Linked DNA regions of Homo sapiens: region 2 is linked to region 1. The links are contacts of gene promoters, found by promoter capture Hi-C in blood cells and fetal thymus (Javierre and others, 2016). All regions are on one chromosome and are shown on one strand. The core of a region is centred on a gene start or on the middle of the fragment in contact, and the rest is flanking DNA. Distances in the headings are between cores, read along the strand shown.

What was found. The method cuts DNA at HindIII sites, captures the fragments that hold promoters and counts their contacts. A CHiCAGO score of 5 or more calls a contact.
Region 2: a contact is called between a fragment that was not itself captured here and the fragment with the promoter of NUMA1 in region 1, in 1 of 17 cell types (non-activated CD4 T cells). The highest score is 8.0, in non-activated CD4 T cells.

What each region holds. Positions count from the first base shown.
Region 1 is chr11:72,077,501-72,082,667 of GRCh38, forward strand. It overlaps NUMA1 (nuclear mitotic apparatus protein 1), which reads right to left and starts at 3,042. Exons shown (of 27, transcript NM_006185.4): 1 at 2,958-3,042. It overlaps LRTOMT (leucine rich transmembrane and O-methyltransferase domain containing), which reads left to right and starts at 3,350. Exons shown (of 9, transcript NM_001145310.4): 1 at 3,350-3,385. It overlaps LRRC51 (leucine rich repeat containing 51), which reads left to right and starts at 3,350. Exons shown (of 6, transcript NM_145309.6): 1 at 3,350-3,385. RefSeq lists enhancers at 2,453-3,408, 3,128-3,397, 3,409-4,363. The HindIII fragment of the contact is 5,366 bases long and covers 1,415-5,167 here.
Region 2 is chr11:74,171,341-74,176,564 of GRCh38, forward strand. PPME1 (protein phosphatase methylesterase 1) reads left to right here. Exons shown (of 14, transcript NM_016147.3): 1 at 1-182. The coding sequence starts at 82. Among named protein-coding and RNA genes, the nearest start is that of PPME1, 2.7 kb to the left of the region's middle. RefSeq lists enhancers at 1-43, 1-743. The HindIII fragment of the contact is 790 bases long and covers 2,902-3,691 here.

The DNA.
Region 1 (5,167 bases), core at 1,792-4,291:
CCCAGCTAAACTACCAATCAAGACTGAAAGTGAGCTGGGCACAGTGGCTCATGCCTATAATCCCAGCACTCTGAGAGGCCGAGGCGGGAGGATCACAAGGTCAGGGGATCGAGACCATCATGGCTAACACAATGAAACCCTGTCTCTACTAAAAATACAAAAAATTAGCCAGGCGTGGTTGCGGGCGCCTGTAGTCCCAGCTACTCGGGAGGCTGAGGCAGGAGAATGGTGTGAACCTGGGAGGCGGAGCTTGCAGTGAGCCGAGACTGTGCCACTGCACTCCAGCCTGGGCAACAGAGTGAGACTCCATCTCAAAAAAAAAAAAAAAACAAAAAACTGAAAGTGAAATAAAGATTTTTTAAATGAAGACAGTGTTTACCACTAACAGATTCCCACTGGACAAACATCTGAAGGATGTATGTATCTATGCAATAAAAAAGGAAGGAATAAAATGCAAGGAAAAATAGTGAAAAAGCAAACAGTAGACATACATGGGTAAAATGAAATAATCACTAACAATACAAAACAATAAACATATTTTAATTGTGTTGGGGTCTCACTCTGTTGCCCAGGCTAGCTAAGAACTCCTGGGCTCAAGCCATTCTCCCGCCTGCTCCTCCTGCCTCAGCCTCCAGAGTAGTTGGGATGACAGGGCAAGCCACCATGCCCAGCTACAAAATAATAATTATCAATTAGAATTGTTCAGCTTAGAGATGGATTGACTTTGGGAATGATCTCATTCTAGAAAGTACTCATTTTGAGTCTGGACAACACCTTTTGGTATGTTTAGTGTACACTGGGTAAGAGGCTAAATTAAATGACCACACCATATATTAGGTTAATGCAAAAGTAACTGTGGTTTTTGCCATTACTTTCAATGGCAATAACTGCAATTACTTTTGCACAAACCTAATATCTTCTGATCATAGTTTTATCAATTAGACACAGCTGTCCAAACAGCCCCTGATCAGCTCTGTTCAGCCACCTGAGCAGGGCTTTGCCCTCATCCTAAAAGTTCTAGAATTCAAGTCTTATTTCAAGGCATTCTTCCCACTTCCATGTTCCACATGTAAAAAAGAATTCTACGTTTCTTAACGAGCTTTCAGGTAAGATCTTTAAGCTTTTGGAATGTACCGCTTTTCGCTGTGAACTAAGAGCTTAGACATTACAATTAGTCATCCCTTGCTAGAACTTAGGCTACGAAAAGAATACTTTGGAAGCTTTCACAAAAAAGTATGTGGTTCTTCCTCTAAAGAAGAAAATACCACACAGAAAGAGGGACTGAGGAAACATAAACCCATCTGTGCTGACAGAAAGCTACCTTACATGATCCTCATGTTCGCCCCAGGTTCCCATATATTCACAGCAGTAAAGATCTCCACAAAGCAGAGAGGCCCAACTCCCTTACCATTAAAGCTTTAACGACCAGACAACCCAGAAGTTTGGAAACATAGAACCAGGCAACAGATACTAGAGAGAGGGAATTATGTATTAAAGCAAGAAAATATCATCACGTTTTCAAGAGGGAGTGCCATTCCAGTAAAGAGGACAGCTTAATACTGAGGTTCAAATGCCACTAAATGAAAACGGGAAAGCGAAATTCCTGTGCCCTTTCAGCCCAAGAAATTATTCCAAAGCATACATTTATTCCCATTACATGTCGCAAATCCTGCCTAGCCATTAGGATACAGTGACGAAAAAGTCTCTCGTTATCTAGAAGGGCAGACAAACACGCAGACTTTTAAAATACCAGATGGCAGGCCGGGCGTGATGGCTCACGCCTGTAATCCCAAGCACTTTGGGAAGCCGAGGCGGGCGGATCACGAGGTCAAGAGTTCAAGACCGGCCTGGCCAAGATGGTGAAACCCTGTGTCTACTAAAAATACAAAAGTTAGCCGGGTGTGGTAGCGGGCGCCTGTAATCCCAGCTACTCGGGAGGCTGAGGCAGGGAACTGTTTGAACCCGGGTGGCAGAGGTTGCAGTGAGCCGAGATCGCGCCACTGCACTCCGGCCTGGGCGATAGGGCGAGACTCCGTCTCAAAAAAAAAAAAAAATGACAAGTGCTAACTCAGAGGTAAGCAAAAGAGAGTACCCAGAGGCGGCAGCATCAACCCAGTGGGCTCCCGCCCACCCACAATCTTCACACAGTCACACCACTTATAGTCATAAATTTGTACTCTCCGAGGTGCGTGTATGAAACATGTTATCTGTGAGAGTCCATGGATGAAAAACAAAAACAAACAAAAATTAAAAAAAAAAAAAAAAAAGACTTAACCTGTTTTGACCAGGACAACCACCCCAGGAAGTAGGTAAGGCAGGTAAGGTCATTGTTTACATATATGAAAAGTGAGGCTCAAAATACACTGACCAGTCCAAGACAACGCGCGCCCCCACAAAGCACCTTCCCCGTCCCCATTTATGCCCAACCCATAAACCCAAAGTAGAGCCAACCTCGCACTGGCTACGTAACCCGGGCCAAGCTAAACATTATAAACCTCAGGCTCCCCATCTTTAAAGTATAACAGGTGGTTAGAAGATTAAAAAGATAAACATTTGGCAGGTCATTGTGGACGGTGTAGCTCAGAAAATGCTGACTACTGCACTACCATAACTACTGCTATTGTTAACGATAAAAGGCAAAGACTTTCCAGGACCCGACCCCTCGCTTACAAGCCTTTCGGGAACTTGCCCTATACCCCCGACCCCAGTCACCTTCAGATTTAATTCCACAGACACGCCCCCAAACAGACCCTCCCCTTTAAGGCACCCCCCCCCCCCCCGGCTCCTCCCTCTCAGGCGCCTCTCCTCACAAACCTTACCCCCATAGATTCTGCCCTTTCGGACTCGGTTATGGAGGAGGCCTTCCGCTCGCAGCGGCCTCTCCAGCACCCCTTTTAGGCCTGAGCACCCGCAGGGGTGCCCAGGCCGCACGCCAAACGCGGGCCCGCGCCGGTTACCTGGCTGCGCGCTCCCGCTCTGCCTCGCGATTCTCCGGAATCGTACCTCTTCGTGGGCTCGCGCCAGCGCTGTGAGCGCACAATTAGTTTAAACTATGGCCCCGCCCCCTCGCGCTGCCCTCTGATTGGCCTCTGTCGGCGGGGCCCGCTTAAGGACCCGGGAAAAGGAAGTTTGAGGGCCACTGGGAAAGAGAAGGGGTATCACCGCTTCCGGACCCCGGCCTGTACTTGAAGGCAAAGAGAACTACAAATCCCAGCGTCACCCGCGGCCTTGAAGCCCCGCCCCTGACAAACTGAAGGTCCCGGTAAGCATCGCGTCAGTACTTATGGCGCCTGCCGGGTTGTGGTGACGAAAGCAGTTGCCATGGAGTTGCTCTGAGTAACCCTGAGGCAGTGGGACGCCAAGACTGGAGAGGAAGCGACTGCGGGTGAGTCGGGCGGGAAAACAGGAAACCCGTTCTAGGGGACAAGAGATCTATGGAGAAGGGAGGGGCACTCACAGAACGACTAAGAACCTTCCTGCTCGGGGATCTGAGATTTCCCCCACCGACCCTCATCACCTTTCACAGCGAACAAGATACAACACTCACATGGGACAGACTGGGCGAGGGGGAGCAGAGGGAGGGATAGGCGTTGAGATATATATCCATACAGATTTGGGGATGCTTAAGAACCACCCCCAGGGCCGGGAGCGGTGGCTCACGCCTGTAATCCCAACACTGGGAGACCAAGGCGGGCGGACCACTTAAGGCCAGGAGTTCGAGACCAGCCTGAGAAACATGGCGAACCCTGTCTCTACCAAAAACATAAAAAAATTAGCCGGGCTTGGTGGCGCGCTCCAGTGGCCCCAGCTACTAGGGAGGCTGAGGTAGAAGGATCGCTTGAGCCCGGAGATTGAAGCTGCAGTGAGCCGTGATCACGCAACTACACTCCAGCCTGGGCTATAGAGCGATACCTCCATCTCAAAACAAAACAAAACGAAACAAAACAAAAACAAAACAAAACAACGAACCCCGCCCCCAACGCAAACATAAAGCTCCCAAAATCGGATGCTTCAAGTTCCAGGCATAACCTGGGAGATCAGAAACGCCCTCAGAAATGGGGTTGGTTTTCCTCTGAGGAACTGAGACCCTCTTCCAAGACATGCGGTTAGCATTAGATTGAGTAAATCGCAGTCGCTACCCTAATTCTAGAGATGTAGGAAACTTCCTGGGGCGTGAAGTGCCTCATTCCTTCTTCTTCCAAGGAGTAAAACCCCTTCTCAATCTGTCCCCAGATTCCCTTTTCTCCCCACACCTTCTCCGTGGTCCGCTACTCAAAGCTCTACAGTTAGAGCTTCATTTTTTTTAGTACTCACGACAGATCTATTACATTTAGTAACCTACCCAGTGCTTTCACAGTCTCTCTTTTGATACTCTTAACAGCTCTGTGAGTCAAGGATATTTATCTTCATTTCACAGATTGGAAAACTGAAACCCAGAGAAAAGGGACTTGCCCAAGGCCACACACCAAATTAGTGACAGAGCTAGAACTAGACTCCAGTTCTCCGACTTCCAGCTAAGTCTCTTTAGCTTCAGCCTACTGCCTCTATAGCGGAAGGACTTGTTCCAAGGAACAAGTTAAACTGCCCCAGGGAAAAGGAACCTGTGTGGCCTACTTTGTATTATTTACACTTCAGCTGGAATGAATTTCAGATCCTCCCCTGAAACTTTTAATGGGGAAAAGGAACTAGAGAGACTAAGACAATGAGACTTGAACATTTTTAACTAAACAGGAAACAGAAGGGCTAACACAGCACCCATGTCTGAAGTGACCATGATTAGCTGGTTTCTAGCTGGTGACTAGCTGGCCCTGACTGGTCCACTTACTACCTTAAAGTTCTCCCAGGTTTGGTCCTACGCCCTCTTGCCACTGCACTCTATATTCTCTTCTTGGGTACCCCTCCACACCCACAACTTCATTTTCCACCTGTATGCAAATGTACACAAGTGTGTATCTCAAGCCCAGCCCTCATCTCTAAGCTCCAGATCTATATAGCCAATTGCCTCAACATCTCCTTTAGGATACCTCAAAGGCAACCCAAACTCTACATTTCTGAAATTGAAACAATCTCTGTGTATCCCAACCTTTTCCTCCAAGCCTGGATCTCTTCCAGTGCTCCTACCTTTATCCACAATATACCCAAGCCCAAAACCCAAGTTAGTACCTCT
Region 2 (5,224 bases), core at 2,047-4,546, 2.1 Mb after region 1:
GAGTCGTGACCGGTTGGGCCACACTCAACGTGGGACGAAGCTTCGCCTACTGTTTGACTACGTGCGTGCAGCCTCCCCTCGATGTCGGCCCTCGAAAAGAGCATGCACCTCGGCCGCCTTCCCTCTCGCCCACCTCTACCCGGCAGCGGGGGCAGTCAGAGCGGAGCCAAGATGCGAATGGGGTACGTGACCCATACCCCTTCTCCCTATGGGCCAGGCCCCAGCCGTTGGAGAATGGTATCTCTGGGCGTTCATAGAGGCACGGGAAAGGAGTCTACTGATAGGAGAAAATGTTGGCGGCCTGGAGATATTTAGATGGAGTAGAAGGCAGATTGGGGTACTAGGGGAGGCGCCAAGTCAATAGAAATTGGAGGAAAAATAACGTTGTTGAAGGGAGAGGGGAATGAGGCAAAGGTTGGGGAAGCTGAGAGACTAACATAAGGGATCTGAGAATCACTTCCACAATAAAGGAGGCTTAGAAAAGGGAGTAGAACGGTGACAAAGGTGGAGGAGAATCGGCCAGGGAAGGTGGAGGGAAGTGGGGAATGACTGAGAGAAAAGTTGAGGGGAATTGGGCCAACAACTAAGGAAAGGTTTGGGAGGAGTAGATATTATCAGAGTTCTAATATCTGCACTGTGAGAACTAGATACTAGAAAAGCTGAGGGGGGTAGAAAACACTCGAGACAGGGCTGGAGAAGGAAAGAGGAGAACTAGGAAGCAGACGATTCTAGAGAATTCCCAGAGGTGTAAAGACAGATTCAGCGAATGAGAGGTGAGATTAGGTCTCTTAAGGGAGAATGAGAAAGTTTAGGGAGTAGGCCTAAGGTAAGGTGGAGAACATAGCCACGAAGATTGTTAAGGGTAGTAGGAATGTGCTGAGAAGCTGGACAGGATAAGGGAGAGAGAAGAAGGAGAGGACTGAAGAATTTACAGAGTGAGAAGCTGGACAGGATAAGGGAGAGAGAAGAAGGAGAGAACTGAAGAATTTACAGAGTGACCATAGGCTCTAAAGATTGAGAGATGACTATAAATACGGTTTGGTGAATGGAAGTGCTGCAGTTGTAAGGTCTGGGAAGCTTAGAGGAAGATTTGGGCAATCAGTTTTTGCTGGGCTAGTAGATCTGAGGGAAGCGACGTACTGGCCTAAGACTTTGAATTAGTGAAGCATTGGGAGTTCGAGAAATAGTTTGCTGGAAAGGAAGGAGAGCCATGTAGAAGAGATAGGTTTTGGAATTTTAGATCGTTAAATGGCTTGTGCCAGGTTAGGGGATACTTGGGCCGAGGAGAAAGAATGAGGTGAACATGGGAGAAGTAATTGCTGGAAAGTGGAGAGAATTGAATAGGCATTTGGTTTTGAGGGGATATTTGTAGTTTCAAACAGGATTCTGGGAATTAGTGACTGTAAAGAGAAAAGGAGTAGGAAAGATACTTAGGTATGAGGGCTCCAGAGTATATTTGGGATTCTAGAGATGAATTGGTAGATATTCTTTGAAAAAGGACTACAGAAGAGAAACCTTAGGTTCTGAAGAAGTAATATGTGTAAAAACTTATCAAAAAGGAGGCGAGAGTAGGAGATGCAGTACTGTGACAGTAAGTCCTAGGGATGAAAAGAAAGGAGAATCCTATAAAACAGTGGGGTAAAGGAATGGGAAAAATGGGTGGAAAAACCAGGGAAGGAAACTAAGAATTGAGTGGAGACCTGCTATGATACGCAGTAGAAAAATGAGAAAACTTTAGCAGGAGGAGATAGAGAGATAGACGCACAATAGAGGTAGAAGGCTACATAGAAGGTAAAGTGAAGATTGTTTTGGCTTTGGAAGACAGAAAAGTTGGACTATAACATGAATAAAGAGAATTTGGAAACTGACCCATAACATTATTTGGGAAAACTAACCTGGAGTTTAATATTAATGTAACATTAATTGTTGTTAAATATCTTAGTTGCTGCCTTTCTTAAAATAAATTTGATTTTTCAGTATACCAGCACCCTTCTATACAAATACATAAGAAAATCAGATTTTTAATAATTATACATTCCTTAGATAAGCTTAATTAGAGCTCAGCTTCTCATCTTGGAGAAACAAGTTCTCTGAAGATTGAAGAACTGAATGAAGATACTGAGAGAAAAAAAAAGGAAAATCTGCTGATTAGAAGATTGTATAATTGTTAGTAATTTATCGTTTTTATTTTTTATTACTTTTCATTTTATTTTTTTTTAGAGACAGAGTCTCACTCTGTTGCCCAGGCTAGAGTGCAGTGGCACAATCTCGGCTCACTGCAACTTCCACCTCCCGGGCTCAAGTGATTCTTGTGCCTCAGCCTCCCAAGTAGCTGGGATTACAGGCATGCACCACCACGCCCGGCTAATTTTTGTATTTTTAGTAGAGAGGGGATTTCGCCATGTTGGCCAGGCTGGTCTTAAACTCCTGGCCTTAAGTGATCTGCCCCACTTGGCTTCCCAAAGTACTGGGATTATAGGAGTGAGCTACTGTGCCTGGACAACTTACCTTTTTAAAAAGATGCTTTGGTCTTCTTGGTTTAGGTTAACTGCTTATCCTGGAAAAGAAAGTTCTTTAGAAAGGCCTTTCTTTATGATAGTATTGTGAAGAGAAGAGCATATATTGGCGAATATTTGTGTGGTCCTCAAATGGCTTATTTTCCCGTATCTTTCTTTTCTACTTTATTGGTATATAAGCAGGCTTCATCTAAGTCTCATGGTAGTAATAATATAGATTCTCTTTCTCCTTAGAATCATAAAGCTGAGAGAAAGCATAGACATGGTCTCATTTCACCACTTCATGTAGTTGAGGAACCCAATATTCAGAGAGTTCTGTATTCTATAAGGGAATGTATTAATAAATGAGGGAACTGAGACTCAGATATTCCTAAGGTACCCTAGAAGCTTAGCGGTAGGGCCGTTAAGGACTAGGACTTGGGTCTCTTGACTGTGAGACCCATTGTGTATTTTGGAGTCATAATTGTCATCTGGGGATACTTATTTTGAGTTGTGTATCTTACTCATTTGCATATAATCTAGGATTCAGTCTTTTTCTTCAGTCGTAATTTATGAAGTCTCACACCAATTTCAAAGCATTCTTTATGTCTCCTTATGCTTACTTGCTTTTTTCTTAACTTCCATTCTTCCACTCTATCTATGTTACTCACAAGTTAGTCCTGTTCTCTTGATAGTCTCTTGTGTGGCTTACTCTTAACTATTTTTCATGATCTCTTGCCTTCAATTTCACTAAACATTATTTAGGCATGTTTGCATATTCAGGGTGCATATTCTGAGTTGGTGATTTTTCATGAGTTTCCATAATTCAGTTTTTCAGATTAGATTTAGTAATTCCAAAGTATTGTTGGATAATTTAATAATAGCAATTTTTAAAGTAAGTACTGTGTGCCAGACATTGTAATGGTAACTTTATGTTATTTAATGTGTCCACAGACCTGCATGGTGAATATTTTCCTGCATTGTGGGTAAAGACATTCAGACCCAGAGATTAAAAGTAACCCAACTAGTAGGTAGCAGAGCTAGGATTCAATCTAAGTTTAGTCTCTAGAATCCATTCACTTTTCAGTACACTAATATTTTCTCTTGGGTAAGGCCTGAAATCCTGGTGTCACTCTTCCTTTTAATAGATGCCAATGGATGTTGCCAAAAACAGTGGTTTTGAACTTCTTTATTAAAGCTTTTAGAGCTACTCTGACTAAAGTAGATTTGAGATCCCTATTTGCTTTGCACCCCTGGTGTGCTTGAGAGAAGTATCTTTTGAAAGTCACTGCTTTCGTATATACTATTACTATTAGAGGAACTATAAAATATTAAAGCCATTCATTATTCAACGTGTTTTTGGTTTATCAGTAGTTGTACTTTTTGGCCAGGTGTGGTGGCTCATGCCTGTAATCTCAGCACTTTGGGAGGCCGAGGCGGGTGGATCACCTGAGGTCGGGAGTTCAAGACCAGCCTGACCAACATAGAAAAACACCGTCTCTCCTAAAAATACAAAATTAGCTGGCGTGGTGGCACATGCCTGTAATCCCAGCTACTCAGGAGGCTGAGGCAGGAGAATCACTTGAACCTGGGAGGCGGAGGTTGTGGTGAGCCGAGATCGCGCCATTGCACTCCAGCCAGGGCAACAAGAGCGAAACTCCATCTCAAAAAAAAAAAAGTTCTACTTTTCTATTATTATCTCTTAAATTCCTTTTTTTTTCTTTTGCAAGAGATAGAGTCTTGCTGTGTTGCCCAGGCTGAAGTACAGTGGCTTTTCACAGGCATAATCTTGGTGCATTACAACCTCAAACTCGTGGGCTCAAGCAGTCTTCCCACTTCATCCTCTTGAGTAGGTAGGACTGAGGATACATGCTAGCATGCCCAGCTCTGTAGTGATTTAACTGACATGTATATAGTAGTCCCTTTTTATATTCTATGAGGTAAACTAGGGCAGGAGTTAATATTTTCTTTTAATAAATGAGAAAACTGAAATGTTCATTGACTTGCCTAAGATCACAGAATCATTATGTGGCAGGAACAACATTCAAACCCAGGACTTCGTATTTTTAGTCCATTGTTCTTTCTATAGCTTGCATTGAAGGGTTTGATATTTGAAGTGACAAAGATCTAAGTTTGAAGCCCAACTTAGGTATTTACATTGGTCGAGTCATTTAACTTCTCATAGTCTATTTTCTTATCTCTAAAATGAGAATACTTCTGCTTACCTGAGAGTGCTGTGAGAATAAGATAATACATAAAAAGCACTTATAGTTCCTGACACTGACACATAAGCTCTTAAAGAATGATAGCTAGTAGATAATTATACATTGAGAACTGTGAAGAAGGTTCATAGTTTATGTGGAAGCTCTCCTTTCAGTTTCTTATGTTATCAGCTTTTTTGTCCCCACAAGCTGTATGTTTATTCATATCTGATTAGATAGTCTTTCATCCATCTTCTTAAATTTATTATGGATATCAGGCCTCTTAGGAAGGCTTTAATGAGCTATTCACACAGATGGGGAAATAAAGGGCAAAGTGAAGTGATTTGCTCAAGGTCACAAATTGAGTTACTAAAATAATCAAATCCCAGTATTTCTGTTTTTTTTTTTATTTTTTCATTAGATTTTTAAAAAGTTAAATTTATATGCCATAGAATTCACTCTTTTAAATGTACAATTCAGTGATTTTTGGTATATTCACTCAGTTGTACAATTACCACCACTAATTGC